Regions from separate parts of the Homo sapiens genome. Here region 2 is linked to region 1. The links are contacts of gene promoters, found by promoter capture Hi-C in human tissues and cell types (Jung and others, 2019). All regions are on one chromosome and are shown on one strand. Each heading gives the region's core, a stretch centred on a gene start or on the middle of the fragment in contact. The rest is flanking DNA. Distances are from core to core; before and after follow the strand shown.

The links. Contacts are between HindIII fragments. The study calls those that stand out against the background at their distance.
Region 2: a fragment that was not itself captured here is called in contact with the fragment with the promoter of DISP1 in region 1 in 1 of the 25 tissues and cell types used here (hippocampus).

Annotation. Positions count from the first base shown.
Region 1 is chr1:222,809,991-222,817,789 of GRCh38, reverse strand. It overlaps DISP1 (dispatched RND transporter family member 1), which reads right to left and starts at 2,751. Exons shown (of 9, transcript NM_001377229.1): 1 at 2,712-2,751. RefSeq lists silencers at 2,791-2,890, 2,981-3,060 and an enhancer at 3,301-3,360. The HindIII fragment of the contact is 9,383 bases long and covers 1-5,695 here.
Region 2 is chr1:223,707,331-223,715,129 of GRCh38, reverse strand. It overlaps CAPN2 (calpain 2), which reads right to left and starts at 2,591. Exons shown (of 21, transcript NM_001748.5): 1 at 2,253-2,591. The coding sequence starts at 2,489. It overlaps LOC105373281 (a long non-coding RNA gene), which reads left to right and starts at 7,480. Exons shown (of 3, transcript XR_949164.2): 1 at 7,480-7,762. RefSeq lists silencers at 2,125-2,244, 2,455-2,844 and enhancers at 1,954-2,905, 2,945-2,994, 6,772-7,271, 7,272-7,799. The HindIII fragment of the contact is 6,580 bases long and covers 1,270-7,799 here.

The DNA.
Region 1 (7,799 bases), core at 1,502-4,001:
GACTGCAGTGATTCATCCCCTTTTGAGTCACTCTGAGGCCCAAGTCATCTTGGTCACTATTGGAGAAAAGGTCTAACTCACCAGAGGAAAAGGACAGAAAGTATTACTAAAAGCAGTCAACCCTGTGTGAGTCAACCTCATTAAGGGCCATGCTTTTCATCAGAGGCAGTGCAGCAGCTGGACCTTAAGTTAACAGATCAGCAGTCTTTCGTAGCTCCTCATCCAAAAACTGTACTTCCCCATTGTAACAAATATTCTTGATTCTATCAAGTGGCAGGAAATGGCTTTCTAACTAGAGTATGCCGATAATTGAGAACGTACTATATAATCAGAAAATTGATAACCAAAGGGCATAGAAGCAACGAGCTCAACTTAGCAAATTATTTCGTATTTTACAAACTAGAGATTAAGGAAGACAAATGTATGTGTATATGAAGACAGTGTTTTGGTTATCACTATTTTGATAGTTCTTCCAATACAGACACTGTACATATTTCAGAAATAAAAAGAAATAGTGAATCTATAAAATAGCCAGCAGTTCGCTGTACTTAATCAAAAACTGCCATTATTGGTTAAACTGTAAAATACATCTAAATCCTACGGAATAACAAAAATAATTTATCTAGAGAGAAAGCTAAATTTACTAAACAATTAGAAGAAAGAATACAATTCCAAAGATTTTCCGGAATACAGGGCAATCCAACCTCAACATACCATTCATATATATAGCTAGCCCAACTTGCCCAAGAGGGCAAGTGCTCTTGTGTTTCAACAACGAGCACTTCCTCCAACCATGAACTAATGTCTAAAGACTTGCATGCTTTCTCAAGTGCTTTATTTCTCAAAAACCATGGGAAAAGGCGGAAGAAAAATAAAATCAAGTCTTATCAGATAAACAATATTGTCTACTTAAACAAATAAGATTAAATTGAGACATATACAGAAATTAACATGGCAGTTAATTCAATTACTTTAGAGATCAGTGTTATCTCTTCATTTTGTAATTTGAAAACTTATTCAATATGCTCATTTACATGTTAAGGCACTGTTTATGTTTAGGCCTTGCTTTACACTTGTAAATATCAGCAGTCCTCCTAAACATAAGGACGTTATAACTGTGTATTTCACTCAAGCACAGATATTCAAGGCCATCAAGAATTTATAAGCTAGCAAGATATCGCAGTACCAATAAATATAAAATGTTCTAGTTTTCCTGAATTAGTTCAAGTCAGACCACCAAATCAGATCTAAAAGTTACCTGTACTAATACAGTAATTTTTAAAACAAAAACTTCTAACATTTGAAATGTGAAACACCTGAAACAAGCAAAGCAATCATCAGATCTCACCCTCCATCAGTGACAGTGTTATGATTCTTCCTAGCTACCTTGCTCACTTTGTGGCAAAAATCCAATTCACTTACTACCTACTTAAAAGCTAGGAGAATCTTTGTAATTACACTGAGTGAAACACTATATTATGTAGATTAGGAAGCACATATTAATCACATCCAATAAAACATAAATGCAAGGTAAATAATAACTAAATCAATAATTACCTTTGGTAATAATAATGAGCCCACATACCAAACACTGGCCACTGGGGAAAACTAAATGTGCTAATGTGCGTGTAACAACAGATCTTGGGTTATCAATATTTTTAAAAAACACTGACAATGGCAAATATTTATATATATATATATATATATATATATATATTTCCTTACAGCAGAAATAAAAAGGAACAGTAAAATCTTAAGAACTGCTAGTAATTTGCTGCACCCTGATGTAAAATTGCCTTTATTGGTTAAACTAAAAGACTAAACCCAACAAAATAGCTTTTAGAAAAAATGTGTTAGAAAGTTGGACAGAAAAACAATGAGTTGAAACTGCAAACATTGACAGCACTGGCTTTCCATGTGATTATCACCATAATTCTGAACGCATTTAGTTCATCCCATGACAAGGGAAATAAGACAAGCTAAACTCTGCAGGGTAGAGAAGAGTCCAAAAGGAAAACTTTGGTTGTCTTCCTTGGGTGAAGAGAACTCTCAACTACTATCAGTTTGACAAAGACACGCAGAATCTGGGTGAAGCAAGAATTCGAGCGGTCCCTAGGAATATACAATATTTTCCCGAAATCCACACGCGCGGAGCGGGATATATTTCTAAAAACAAAAAACAAACTGCATGAATTGCAAATGAAGCAATAGGAGTTCAGCATCCAATAGGTGGCTGGTCATCTTTCTGGTTCGTTAGGTCAAGACGTCCTTCTCACCTACGACCCTCAGAGAAGGACTGACTCCCTCCTCTGTAACCTCTCCCTGGAAGCCAACCTTTGCCATCTCCTGCCATCCTCTCAGTCAATCCGCCAGGACCCGGGACACGCCCCCACGAATGACTACTTTCCTCCGAGATGCAACTCTGCCCCGTGTCATCCGCAACCTCCAGTCTCAGGGCCTCTTTGGCCTCAGGGTCCCCGGTGCCTCCCTCCTCAGTCCCTAAAGGCTGCCCTTAGGGCTCTCCTGGTTCCCCGTTCTCAGTCCTGGCCCTTCTCTCAAGCCTGGGGTCCCGGATTTCCCTCCACACGCGCGGGAGATGCCGACTCTCCCGTCCCTACCCGGTCTCCCAGTCCCGCGGCGCCGGGCGGCGGCGCGCCGAAAGGCATCCACTGAGGAAACAAGTGCCTGCAACGTTCCGGCTGCGAACTCACCTCCAGTCCGGGCTCTCGGATGCTGGCCCGGAGCCGGGCTTCCGCCTGGCGCGGTCCGCGTCGCGAGCGGGACCGGAAGTCCCGCCCCTCGCCCGCTCCCGGCCCGCTCCCGGCCCGCTGGCCTCGCTTGACTACCGCTCCCCGGGAGAGGGATCGCCGGCGGCGGGCGACGGGCGGCTGGCAAGGGGCAGAGGGCAGAGGGGCTTGGCTTGAAAGGGCGAGGCAGGCGCCAAAAAAATTCCCTCTCGCGCTCCTGCTCTTTCTAGTGTATCCATCGACCAGTGTGCAAATGCTTGACCAAGCGTCTATTCTGCCCAAGCCCAGTGAGGCACAAGATGACTCAGACACTGACCTCTGTCCTCACAATCTAGTTAAAAGTTGACATAAGTAAAAACAGAAGTAAATCACGCCACAAGACAGTGTTTCTTCTTTCATTATTCAGATTATTATCACCTGCTATATAGGCCTGTGAACAACCAGGCACTGCTGTAGGGGCTGGGGATAGAGCGAACAGAGGACAGCCCCACTCTCGTGAGGCTTACACTCAGGGCGAGGAACTAGCTATAGAATAAATCGAACAGCGGCGGCTCCCTCGGGAGGCTTATGCACAGAAACAAAAATATATAAGCAATGAAACCATCAAGTGTTAGAGGCACTCTGGTGGTGCTGTAGGGAACGGTGCAATGTAGAGAGCTGGGCGGAGAAGGCTTTCTAGAAATAATGACTCTTCAATTGAGACTGAAATAAATGATGAATAAGAGTTAAAGGACAGGCACAGTGGAGAAGGGCATGCAGAGAAGAAGGACGTTATGGAGTGAGAGCTTGGCTTGTACCGGTAGCTGGCCAGGAGTTAAGCAAAGTGTCAGATGGCAGATGCAAGAGCAAGCATAATGAGAAGAGACAAGGCCAAATCATGAAGAACGTTGTGCCCTATGCTTAAAAATTTTGGACTTCAGAGACTCCGTGCAACGGAATCCGTGGGGTCATCTAAGGGAATAGACAAAACAGTGAGTCATGGGGTTGACTAGGGGGATTGTCCTAGTCATCAAAGAAAAATAATACATCATGAATAGCATGTTTTATCCTTGAGGGTGCTTTCTTGAACTGCCATACCCAGATGTAAAGGCAATAGACGGCTACCACAACCCTATAAAGGCAGGACCACAAGGGATCATACCCCTCAGGTTGCTGCATTGAGCAAATCACCCCAACCAACTGAGATGCTAACTGAAGTCACAGGGAACTATGGAATGGGCCCAGAAGAAAGAAGCTTCAACACCAGCTACAGTAATGAGGACTGTTGCATTTTTTGTTTGTTTTCTTTGCTACCAGTGTTTAATAAATACTCTCTTGCACACCAAGCCCTTTCTTTGCCTTTTTAAAAAGGAATGGTATAATACATACATTTTTCTTTTTTTCTCCTTTTGCCAGCAAAAGGCCATACATTGCAATATATGGAGATAGGATTACAGTAGAAGAAAATGAGGAATGGATATCGTGTAGAAAGTCTGTACTTAGAGGGCATAACATCAACTCTAAGTGAAGTAAAAGGTCACGCGTTTGGGTTTTCTCCCATTGGGAAGGTTAGTAGTCCATTTGTGGTGATACTTGAAATAACTGATTCACATAGCGGCAAGGTGTATTTTTGAAAGGATGGAAAGAAGAGAGTGTGTATGTGGTGTGATGTGGGGGGTGTGTGTGTGTGTGTGTGTGTGTGTGTGTGTGCCCACGCTGGGTGCCAAGAAGTAGAATGTAATAGACACTCTGTGAAATGTTTCCTTATAGCTTCTCACAATTCCTTTTTTTGTAGGAATGGCTGAAATACATAGAGGCAGTCCTTTTATGGGCCACATATGCACAAGCGACCATGTCCTAGTGTGACCAGCTACTCTGGTTTGCTAAAGACAGGGGGATACCAGGATGCTGGACTTTCGGTGCTTAAACTGGGATAGTTTTGCGAAAACTGAGACAAGTTGGTTGCGCTACCATGTCCCTTGTCTACATAACAGATTAATTCAGAGGTGGGCATATCCTAAACCAGACCATTTAGACTCTTTGCCCCAGAAATCTTAAATGAGGCATAGAGAAACACAGAGAGAATATAGTTACTCAGTAGAACTGAGTCACAAATGGCAGTTCCCTAAAGAAAAAATCTATTAACACCCTTTGCCAAAGATCCAGGACCTGCCCTGTTTCCTTTGGTTATAGGAGATATCCCTGTATAATTCCAAAACTTTTTTTTTTTTGGCTAGTCAAAGAAGATTGCTGCTGCTTGCAACCAAAATAATCTTAAGGAGCATATTCATTTCCAATCCTTGTTTAAGATAATGTGCTCCAAGAGTCTCTTCTGAATGGGCACTGAGCTGAACGAACCATACTCATTGCCACAGCAAACCAGACCAAATATGAACACTGAACTCAAACAGGCCTAGAAAGTCTCACATGCATGGATTTTGCAATGCACATATAGGGCTCCACTCTTGCATGCTAAATTAGAAATGTCCAAACCTAGAATTAGGTTAGGCATGAGTAAGATGTTCAAAACTGATGGGAAAAGGGGGAAAGCAACAGGAATGATGAGAAGGAAATAAGGATAAGGAGAGAAAGATGGAAAAAGAGAAGACTTATCTGAGAGGTGAACATCTTAGTTCCCTTCTTTTCAGTTTCTGATTCCCCAGTCCCTTATGAGATCCAGCTAAATGTTCTGCCCTTAAGTTCTACGAAAATTCCGTGTCCTTCCAGTAAACCCCCCATTTGGTTAAGAATCATTTTAGTAGGTTTCCCCTCCTAGCAATCAAACCCCAAGACATCAATTCACAAGACACAAGGTTGCCCACTCATTCTATAGCATGCACCAGAGTTCTGGAGCCACTTTCTCTCCTCAGACTCAAGAACAGGAGAAGGATTTGCACACCTCCATGGCTGCCTGGTCCATTCAGGAAAACTGTCACAATTACCATGGGTTAGATGACTTTAACTATTAAAATCACACAGGTGGGGAGAATCATGCAATCAGAGTGTAAAGTGGAAGGAGACTTTGGAAACCATGCATGTCAACAGAGGAAGGAACTAATGCCCTTCCAGCTAGGCATAGTGGTTTTCCTAAGGCTAAATAGTTCAGTAGTCCCAGAGACAGGATTAGCTAACAATCTCGTCTCTCAACAACTGAGGAAACTACTGTGAAATCCTTGAAAGTGCACTATTCAGTCTCCTCCCACTCAGCTCCTGATCTTTGGAGTTTACCCACATCTGTATAATGGCATCAGCCTGACTGCGGAACTGTGAGAGCTGTTCAAAAGCCATTTGTGGGTGACAGTAGATAGTGAATATGTTAATCTGAATCAGGAGAGAAAATTTTAAGGAAAATTTTCCTACTTTTTTTTTCCGTACTCGCCAACTGGCTCAAACAGGTAGATGGGTTAATTAACAGAGCTAATAAGGTTAGTTATTCATAAAGTTTATTTACACATTCTACATTCTCTTTAGTTCATACATGGGTATATGTCGTTTCCTTACTTTTTTTTTTTACCACCAACATAAACATCGATATATTTGCAGTTATGTCTAAAACTATATCCTCGTCCCTTTGTAATTTAGTGGCAATTTACTAAATTACTACTAAATCCAGTAATTTAGAAATTTGTGGCAAAATCAACTAGTCTACACTTGGAAGCAATCACAACACCAAACTTGCATTAATTACAGATTATGAAATGAGTGATAAATAAGGTCAGCCAGGGATCTCCAATTAATAATTCCTAACTCTTCTGCAGCTTATTAAAGGCCAGATATTTTCTATGAAGATCTTAACATCTCTTACATAAAGTGAAAAATTAATTACTAAATTTAAAGTGCCATTTCCTTCCTAATGATGTGCAAATATTACTCACCGTCATCATCTCCAGAAATTTGGCACTGTTGTCCAGGCTGGAGTGCAGTGCTGCAATCTGGGCTTACTGCAGTCTCTATCTCCTGGGCTCAAGCCGTCCTTTGACCTCAGCCTCCTGAGTAGCTGGGACTACAGGCATGCAACACCATGTTTGGCTAATTTTTGTATTTTTTTTTAAGAGATGGGGGTCTTCTTATGTTGCCCAGGCTAGTCTCGATCTCCTGGGGTCAAGCGATCCTCTTGCCTCAGCCTCCCAAACTGTTGGGATTACAGGCATGAGCCCCCGCACCCAGCCCAGAAATTTTTCATCTTCCCAAAAATGATACTTTGTATCCATTAAACAATAATTCTCCATTTCCTTCTCCCCTCAGTGTTTTGATGTAATTTTATGTTTGTATATCCTGCAAAAACATTTTTAGCACTGATTCATATCTTCTTGAAGTAAATACATTTCTAATAGAAATAATATTTTGCCCTTTTCAGCTCTTTTCTCCTGTGGAATCCAAATAAAACATGTGATTTCCACAGGGATGCCGTTCTGCTTCAGACCTCTTTAAGAGCTAAACCAATGGAAATTCCATGTGTAAAAGAAACATAACAGGGAGACTTGGCATGATACTCATTAACTAAAAATCTGGGTGGATGTGTTCCTAAGGATTTTTATTCAAGTTAATACTTTTGAACTCCAATCCTGCTTGTTTCTCTGCAAAAGCAATGGGCATTCCACGTGTTTGATTGGTGCACAAGCCTCACTTCATTTTCCTCCCAGGAAAATCAAAACTAAGCAGAGATACTGCCGCCAGAGAAAGCTTCACCTGCTAAATTCCACAGCGACTAATAAAACAAGCCTTTGTTTTTCAGTAAAAATTTCACTCCATGGTTGGTAACTAAAATAGACCCGCAGCTCTAATCCTAACTTGGAAATCTCACCAGTAGGTAAGTAACAGAATGAATTTTCAGTTCTGTGTCTCAGTGATAAGAAACATATTTCCTAAAACAGAATTAACTACAGGCTGGGAATATTGAGGCAAAACTTTTCCTGTAGAAACAATGGATTCATGCCTTAAAGGGGGCTACACCTTCTCTACTTCTCTAGTTAGTGAGAAGTCACTTCTTTTATTTTTAGCATTCTCTTAAAAACTTTTAAAATCAAACAATAAAGCACAGGTTGATTATAGTTGCCTTGAGTAGACATGGTA
Region 2 (7,799 bases), core at 3,310-5,809, 900 kb before region 1:
TGAGAAGGTAGGAAGGAGGCAGAGAGCGCAGCCATAAGGGGTAGGCTCAACATGCACAGACTACACACAGTCCTGGATCTATGCCCTATATCCACTTGACTCTGAGCAAGTATTTAACCTTCCCAAGCCTCAATTTCTTCAACTGGCAAATGGGGATCGTAAAAGTCACACTCTTCCTTAGTTGTGCAGTGCACAGCCCGCCTGCCCTAAGCAGTGGCGCTAGATCATCTCTAGACCTCTACATCCTCATCTGGAAGTCCCACAGGCATTTCCAACTGTTGGGGGACCTGTCTCTGTCCCCTCACTAGCCTCAGAAGTAAGTCTTCAGAAGCAGAAACCATATGCATTGTGCCCAGCATATAGTAGGTATTCGAGAAATGCTTACTGAATGAATGAAAGAATAAGTGAATGAGTATGTGAACTCACTATGTAAACTGTAAAGTGCCATGCAAATGTAAAGTGAACACATTCTCTTGGTTTGTGTTTCACTTTTTTTTTTTTTTTTTTTACTTTTTTATAGAGACAAGTCTTACTGTGTTGCCCAGGCTGGTCTTGAACTCCTGGCTCAAGCGATCCTCCCACCTTGGCCTCCCATAGTGCTGGGATTACAGGTGTGAGGCACTGAGTCAGGTCAGCGTATCACTTTCACAACCATAATTTCATTTGAGGCACATTACAATCCTGCATCCATATTCTACAAACAGTCACTTCTTTTGTGTTCACTGGTGTATCTCCTGAGCTCTCAGGACAGTGCCTGGCATGTAACAGGTGCTCAATCAGTGTTGTCAAATGAGTGAGTAAATGAATGAATGAATGAATGAATGAATACTGTGAAAGGCATGGTTATGTGTCAGGCACTGGGGATATACTGGTAAATAATATACACATGATTCCTGCAGTTCAGTAGGAAGAACAAATACATGTGATTATATTCTAAACTGTGACAATGCTATGAAGGAAATGAGTGGGGTGACAGAGAAAAACAAGGTGGGGAGGTGGCTGCTAAGAAGGGTCAGAAAAGACCTCTTTAGGAAGGGAACATGTGACTAAGTTGGGAAGAATGAGAGTGAGCCACACTCCAGGTAACAGCGTGCCTTGCTGGTGAGAAGGCCTCATGCAGGAAAGAACCGGCTCTTTGAGAGACTGAAAGGAGGCCATGACGGCAGGGCCTAGTGGGCCACAAAAGAGAGAAAATATTTAGGCAGCATGTTTTCTTTTAGATGAAGACATGGAGGCACAGAGAGGTTAAATGGCTCGTTCAAGGTCACCAGCAGGTTAGCAAGAAGAAGAACCCAAGTGCTCTGAGTCTGGGCTAGGGCGCTTCCTGCAGCCCTTGCTACCTATGGGCTGGATTTAGGGTAACAGAAGGTGACCTGGGAGGCTGCTGGGTGTGGAAGCAGAGCTGGAAGCCTTGTTCTCACAACAGGAATCTAGAAGTTGGACTTCAGGGCAGGCTTTCCTAGGCGTGGTAGGGGAAGCCTGGGGAAGTGTCCCAAAGGAGGAGGAGCCTCAGGGGTTCCCCAAGAAACAGAATGGACAAGTAGATTGGGGAGCACAAGTTGTCCCAGGGCCGGGAGGTCAGAGACCCTGGGGGACGGGATAAGGGGGTCTGGAGGGCTCCCGGAGGTTTCCCGGGTGATTCCCGCCAGGGAAACCATGAGACACCTCCGTGTCCTGGGTTAATTACCAGTGTCAATGTTATGAGGAGGTATCGCTGGCTCCCCTTTGGAAAAATAAATCTAACCCCAGGGCTGCAGGAGACTATCCTTAGTCACAAAATGACCAGGCTATGGCCTGTCCCCCTCCATGAACAGACAGAACCCCAGTTGGAGACGGACTTTGTCTGGTAGATGCTGCCTCTCACCGTCCCTTCCCTGCAGACCCGATTCCCCTTCCCTTCCAGCTCCCCGCTAGAGTCCAATCAAAGTTTCACCCCGGCCTCCTGCATCACCCTGAGTTTTTGTGAAGTCCTAAAGTGGCCTGCTAGTGGGATCTGAGGGCAGTGATTCGCCTCGACCCGCCCAGGAAAGCGTGGTGGGTGGAAGAGAGGGAAGGCCCCGGGAGTCCCCCCACGCTCGAACAGAGTCCCGGGCTCTGGCGGCGCGGAGGTGTCGCAGGACTGCGAGGTCCTGGCTTGCGGCTTCCCCACTGCAGCACCCGGGCTGCCCCCCGCCCCAGCGCGCCGCGGGCCGGCCTGCACCCCGCCCTGCCCGGCACCCCGCCCTGCCCGCGTCCTGCCGCGCGCTTCCTACCGTGGGGCGCTTCCACTCGATGCCCCGGGTTTTGCTGGAGTAGGGCCCCAACTCCTTGAAGCCCAGGGCCGAGGGGATGGCCGGGAAGGACGGGTCCTGGAAGAGCGTCCCGGCCTCCAGGCACTCGTTCCGCAGCGCCTCGTAGTCCTGGTTGAGGTACTTGATGGCCCTGTCGTGGGAGCCCAGCCCCTCGGCCGCCTCCCGGTCCTTCGCCAGCTTGGCCGCGATGCCCGCCATGCTGCGGTCCCGGCGGCCGTACTGCGCAGAGAAAGGTCGGGGCGACTCCGCGCTGCGCTCGGCTGGGGCGCGGCCAGGGCCCGGCGCGCTGCTGCGGCCACTGCGGGCGCCGCCGCTGCGAGCGATGATTCACCGGAGGGAAGCGGCCCGGCCCGCGGGGTGTGGCCTCAGCCGCTCCCGGCCTGCTGGGCTCCCGGCCCGGGACCAGGCCATCCTGCGGCCTGCCGAGCGCCGGGAACGCCGCGACCCGGGGCCGGTGCTGCCATCTGCGGACAGCTCCCGGGATGGCGCGGCCCGGCGCCGGGGAGGCTCGCGAATCGCGGTCCAGAGTTGGGGCTCCCACCGGAACCCGAGGCCACCTTTGCAGCCCATAGGGAAGAAGGCTAGGATAGTTGTGGCCGTCCGGAAAACACCCGGGGAGTTAGCAGAGGGTCAGGTAGTGAAGTCGAGGAAACTAAACCAGCTGCCCTGAACTTTGTGCCAAACAGCGTCTTAACGGCTCTGCATACATCATCTCATTTAATCCTCCCAGCGACTCTGAAGAAGGCGCTGATATTGTCCCCATTTTACAGATGAGAAAACTGAGCCTCGGAGACGCTAAATGACGTCCCCAATGTGGCACAACAGTCACAGGCAGAACAGGGACTCTAAGCCACCGGAGGCCTATTGCAATCACAATGCTGCAATTACTACTGCTCAGCTGTTTATTTGATTATAGATAGGGTTGTCAGATTTGGCCAATAAGGCTGGGTGCGGTAGTTCACACCTGTAATCCCAACACTTTGGGAGGCCGGAGGCAGGCGGATCACCTGGGGTCAGGAGTTCGAGACCAGCCTGGTCAACATGGTGAAATTCCGTCTCTACTAAAAATACGTCGTGGCAGGCACCTGTGATCTCAGTTACTCGGGAGGCTGAGACAGGAGAAACGCTTGAACCCAGGAGGGAGAAGTTGCAGTGAGACGAGATCGCGCCACTGCGCTCCAGCCTGGGTGACAAAGCGAAACTCCATATCAAAAATAAAATAAAATAAAATGATTTGGCCAATAAAACAACAACCCTCCCAAATGTTTAATTTGAATTTCAGATAAACAACAGATACTTTTAAAGTATATGTAGGGCCCAAATATTGCATGGGCATACATACTTATTCTAAAAGAAAATATGATTCATTGTTTACCTGAAACTCATATTTAACTGGCAGGATTAGTTGGGTTACTATAGGGAGAGAGCATTTAGAATACTGCCTGTGTTGGCTACTGTGACCACTCTGTTGTGGAGCTAGGGTGTGATTCTCATCTCACACACAGAGACATGGGTGCGTGCCAAGAAATGCAGATGGGCAGAAATTACCTCCTCTTCTTCTCTACAGTAGTAGGGAAGAATTTGGGTTTCACTGGAAAACTGTGCATGGTCTACAGCAGTGGTTCTCAACTGGGGGCAGTTTTGTCCCCTACCCACCCCAGGAGACATTTGGGAATGTCTGGAGATAGTTTTTATGGTCACAGCTAGGAGATGAGGTGCTACTGGCCTTTACTAAGTAGAAGCCAGGGATGCCGCTGAACATCTTCCAATGTCCAAGATAGCTCTTGTGAACCCAGAAAATCTGAAACAGGTCTCATTTAATTTAGAAAGTTTCTTTTGCCATGGTTGAAGATGCACACCTGTGACACAGGAAGTCCTGAGGACATGTGCCCGAGGTGGTTGGGGTGCAGCTTGGTTTTATACATGTTAGGGAGGCAAGAGCCATCAGTCAAGTACATTTAAGAAATACATTGGTTTGGTTCAGAAAGGCGGGACAACTCAAAGTGGCGGGGGGTGGTGGGTGGGTAGTGGGGGTGGCTTCCAGGATATAGGTAAATATTTAAACATTTTCTGGTTGACAATTGGTTGAGTTTGTCTAAAGGCCCAGGATCAATAGAAAGGAATGTTTGGGTTGCGATAAGAGGTTGTGGAGACAAAAGTTTTATCACATAGATGAAGCTTTTAGCTAGCAGGCTTCAGAGTGAACAGGCAGTAAAATGTTTCTTATCAGACCTAAACTCTGGTTGATGTTCACGCTGGAGAGGTATAATGAAGCATGTCCGACCTTGCCTTTCCTTCATGGCCTGAAAATTTCAGGTTAAAATTTTAAGAGCCTCGGCTAAGGAGGAACCATCCATTTAGATGGTTGGCGGGGGTAGGGGAGGGGGAGGCTTAGAATTTTATTTTTGGTTTACATTCTCCACCCAAAACATGATCTAGTCCAAGACATCAGTCATGTAGAGGCTGAGAAACCCTGGTTTAGAGCATCTCCTTCCAGAAGATCTGGGTCTAGCCTTTCATTGTTTTTGTTGTTGTTGTTGTTGTTTTTGTTTTTCTTGAGATGTAGCACCCTGTCACCCAGGCTGGAGTGCAGTGACAGGATCTTGACGATCTCAGCTAACTGCATCTTCTGCCTCCCGGGTTCCAGCGATTCTCCTGCCTCAGCCTCCAACGTAGCTGGGATTACAGGTGCACACCACCACATCTGGCTAATTTTCTATATTTTTTGTAGAGATGGGGTTTCACCGTGTTGGCCAGGCTGGTCTCGAATTCCTGACCTCAGGTGATCCGCCTGCCTCAGCTTCCCAAAGTGTTGGGATTACAGGTGTGAGCCACCACACGAGCCCCTTTCATTGTTTTTGAGTTATTTTATAACTCTAAGTTGTATATAACTGTAGCAATGTATAGTTACCTAAGTAACTCTAAGTAAGTAATCTAAGTTGTAGATAACTGTAGCAATGGAAAATAATTTTTCCTATAGATATGCAAATGCATTCTGTCCAGTAGAGGCACTACAGTCCCCCTGTAGAGAGACCAGTTTTTTGTCTAGTTGCATATTCCATTTCAGTACTCTTCACGTCATGTAAATTGTGCTGCTTTGGTTTCTCCTTTGAACCAGTTATAACATCCACCAGATTGCCTCGTTTAATCAAGTTAAATGGACTCTTTTTTTTTTTTGAGATGGAGTTTCACTCTTGTTGGCCCAGGCTGGAGTGCAATGGCACAATTTCGGCTCACCACAACCTCCACCTCCCAGGTTCAAGTGATTCTCCTATCTCAGCCTCCCGAGTAGTTGGGATTACAGGTGCCTGCCACCATGCCTGGCTAATTTTGTATTTTTAGTAGGGACAGGGTTTCTCCACGTTGGCTAGGCTGGTCTCGAACTCCTGACCTCAGGTGATCTGCCCACCTCTGCCTCCCAAAGTGCTGGGATTACAGGTGTGAGCCACTGCACCCTGCCGAAATGGAATCTTTAAAATGTGTTTATTTTATACTAATATGAGAGCCATGATGTTACCTTTTCTTAAAGCAAGTATTTTTGTCACTATTATTCCTCTGCCCCCATCTATTCTTGTCTCTGACACCCATTGCTTACCCCCTTTGCTTGACAAAACTTTGGTCAGACTTCTCTCTTTCCTACAGATCCCTGAATGCTGCTTGCCCCCAAGCCTGAACAAGCACAAACAAAGTGGAGTGTCCCTGCCAAGTCACTTCCCTGCCCAGCTTCTCCTGGGAATTGACTGAACACAGCAAGACCCTTTTCCTGTCAGCTCCCACTGGTCATTTCCCCTCACTTGTCCAGCTTCCCCTCCCAAGAGTCTGCTTATCTCCACTTGCTCCTCCTTTACCCTAGAAAAGAAGAATCTTTTTCTGTTTGATTTTGAGCTGCTTGCAGATTCTCTGAATTGGAATTGTCTTTCTCTCTTTTTTTTTCTTTTCTCTTCTCTTTTCTTTCTTTTCCTTCCTTCCTTCTCTTTTTCTCTATTTTTTCTTTCTTTCTCCCTCCCTTCTTCCCTTCCTCTCCTTCTCTCCTTCTCTCTTTCTCTCTCTCTCTCTCTTTCGCTCTTTCTTTCTTGTTTCACTCTTGTTGCCCAGGCTGGAGTGCAGTGGTGCAATCTCCACTCACTGCAACCTTCGCCTCCCGGGTGCAAGTGATTCTCCTGCCTCAGCCTCCTGAGTAGCTGGGATTACAGGTACCAGCCGCCATGTGCAGCTAATTTTTTTGTATTTTTAGTAGAGACGGGGTTTCCTCATGTTGGCCAGGCTGGTCTTGAACTCCTGACCTCAGGTGATCCACCTGCTTTGGCCTCCCAAAGTGCTAGGATTACAGGTGTGAGCCACTGCGCCTGGCCTGCAATAGTCTTTCTTTCTATTGAAGTGTCCCTTTATAAAAGTCTGGATTTTTTTTTTTTTTTAAACAGAGTTTCACTCTTGTTGCCCGGGCTGGAGTGCAATGGCGCGATCTTGGCTCATTGCAACCTCCGCCTCCCGGTTCAAGTGATTCTCCTGCCTCAGTCTCCCATGGTTTTGTTTTTATTTGACATCCTCCATCTCTGGTTTGCAAGTCTGGGCATGCTGCCTGATGGGCAGGTACCACCGTCCACCACCAGGCTTTGCTTTCTTTACTCTTGAATAAGGCGGGGACACAGGTTCCATTGTGTAATGGTTGGCACTCTGGACTCTGAGTCCAGAGATGGGGATACAGGCATTCATTTCTAGCTCATGGGTTTCTGGTGCAAGGGTTTCATGAAGCCATCACAATTGAAAACAGAGGAAAGCGACAGCCCTGTCCTGGAAGCTGTTCATTTGTTCCACTGTCTGATTTCCATTGGCCCCACCCCGACTTCTTCTGGGCTCGAGGCTCTTGGGAGAAAGCTTGTCCTTCTGCCCAGTGGGGCAGAGCGCAGGCTTCTCCTCCCACTGATCTCCTCAAGGACAGCTCATCTCTGGAGGAAGTGACTCCTCCCAGGCAGGTGGAGGTCATTTCCCTCCTAAGTCATTTTAGCAACAAATGGGCAGATCAGACCTATCATTCCAGTCAACTCAGAAGCTTTGCACAGCCTGGGAGCAGAAGAGCCTCCTGGCTCACCTGAAGTTCCTCTTCCCCAGCTAGGCAACACCCTCTTTGGTGCAGCCCTGGCCACTCCCCTTGCCAGCCTTCTAGGGATCGCTGCGCACATAGAGCTCTGCTTACAAAGGGCTTTAGGCTGTCCTATGCCACCCAAATTTAATTGCAAACACATACAATGACTACTTTCCCCAACCATTTGGACAAAGTCTAGTTTTTAAACCTGAGTTAATGTTGCTTTTTCTACTTCCCAAAGCCTCTCACACTATGCTATCTCACTGACCCAGCAAAGTCTTCTCTTTCTCTGACCACACAATCCTTTTCACGGGAACACAAGGACATAGACAAACACTTCATGGTGGAAAACCTTCCTGGAGTGAGTCAGCCAGCCCTGAGGATGGTGGTGAGTCAGAAACAGCTGGGATTATCCAGAACTGCCT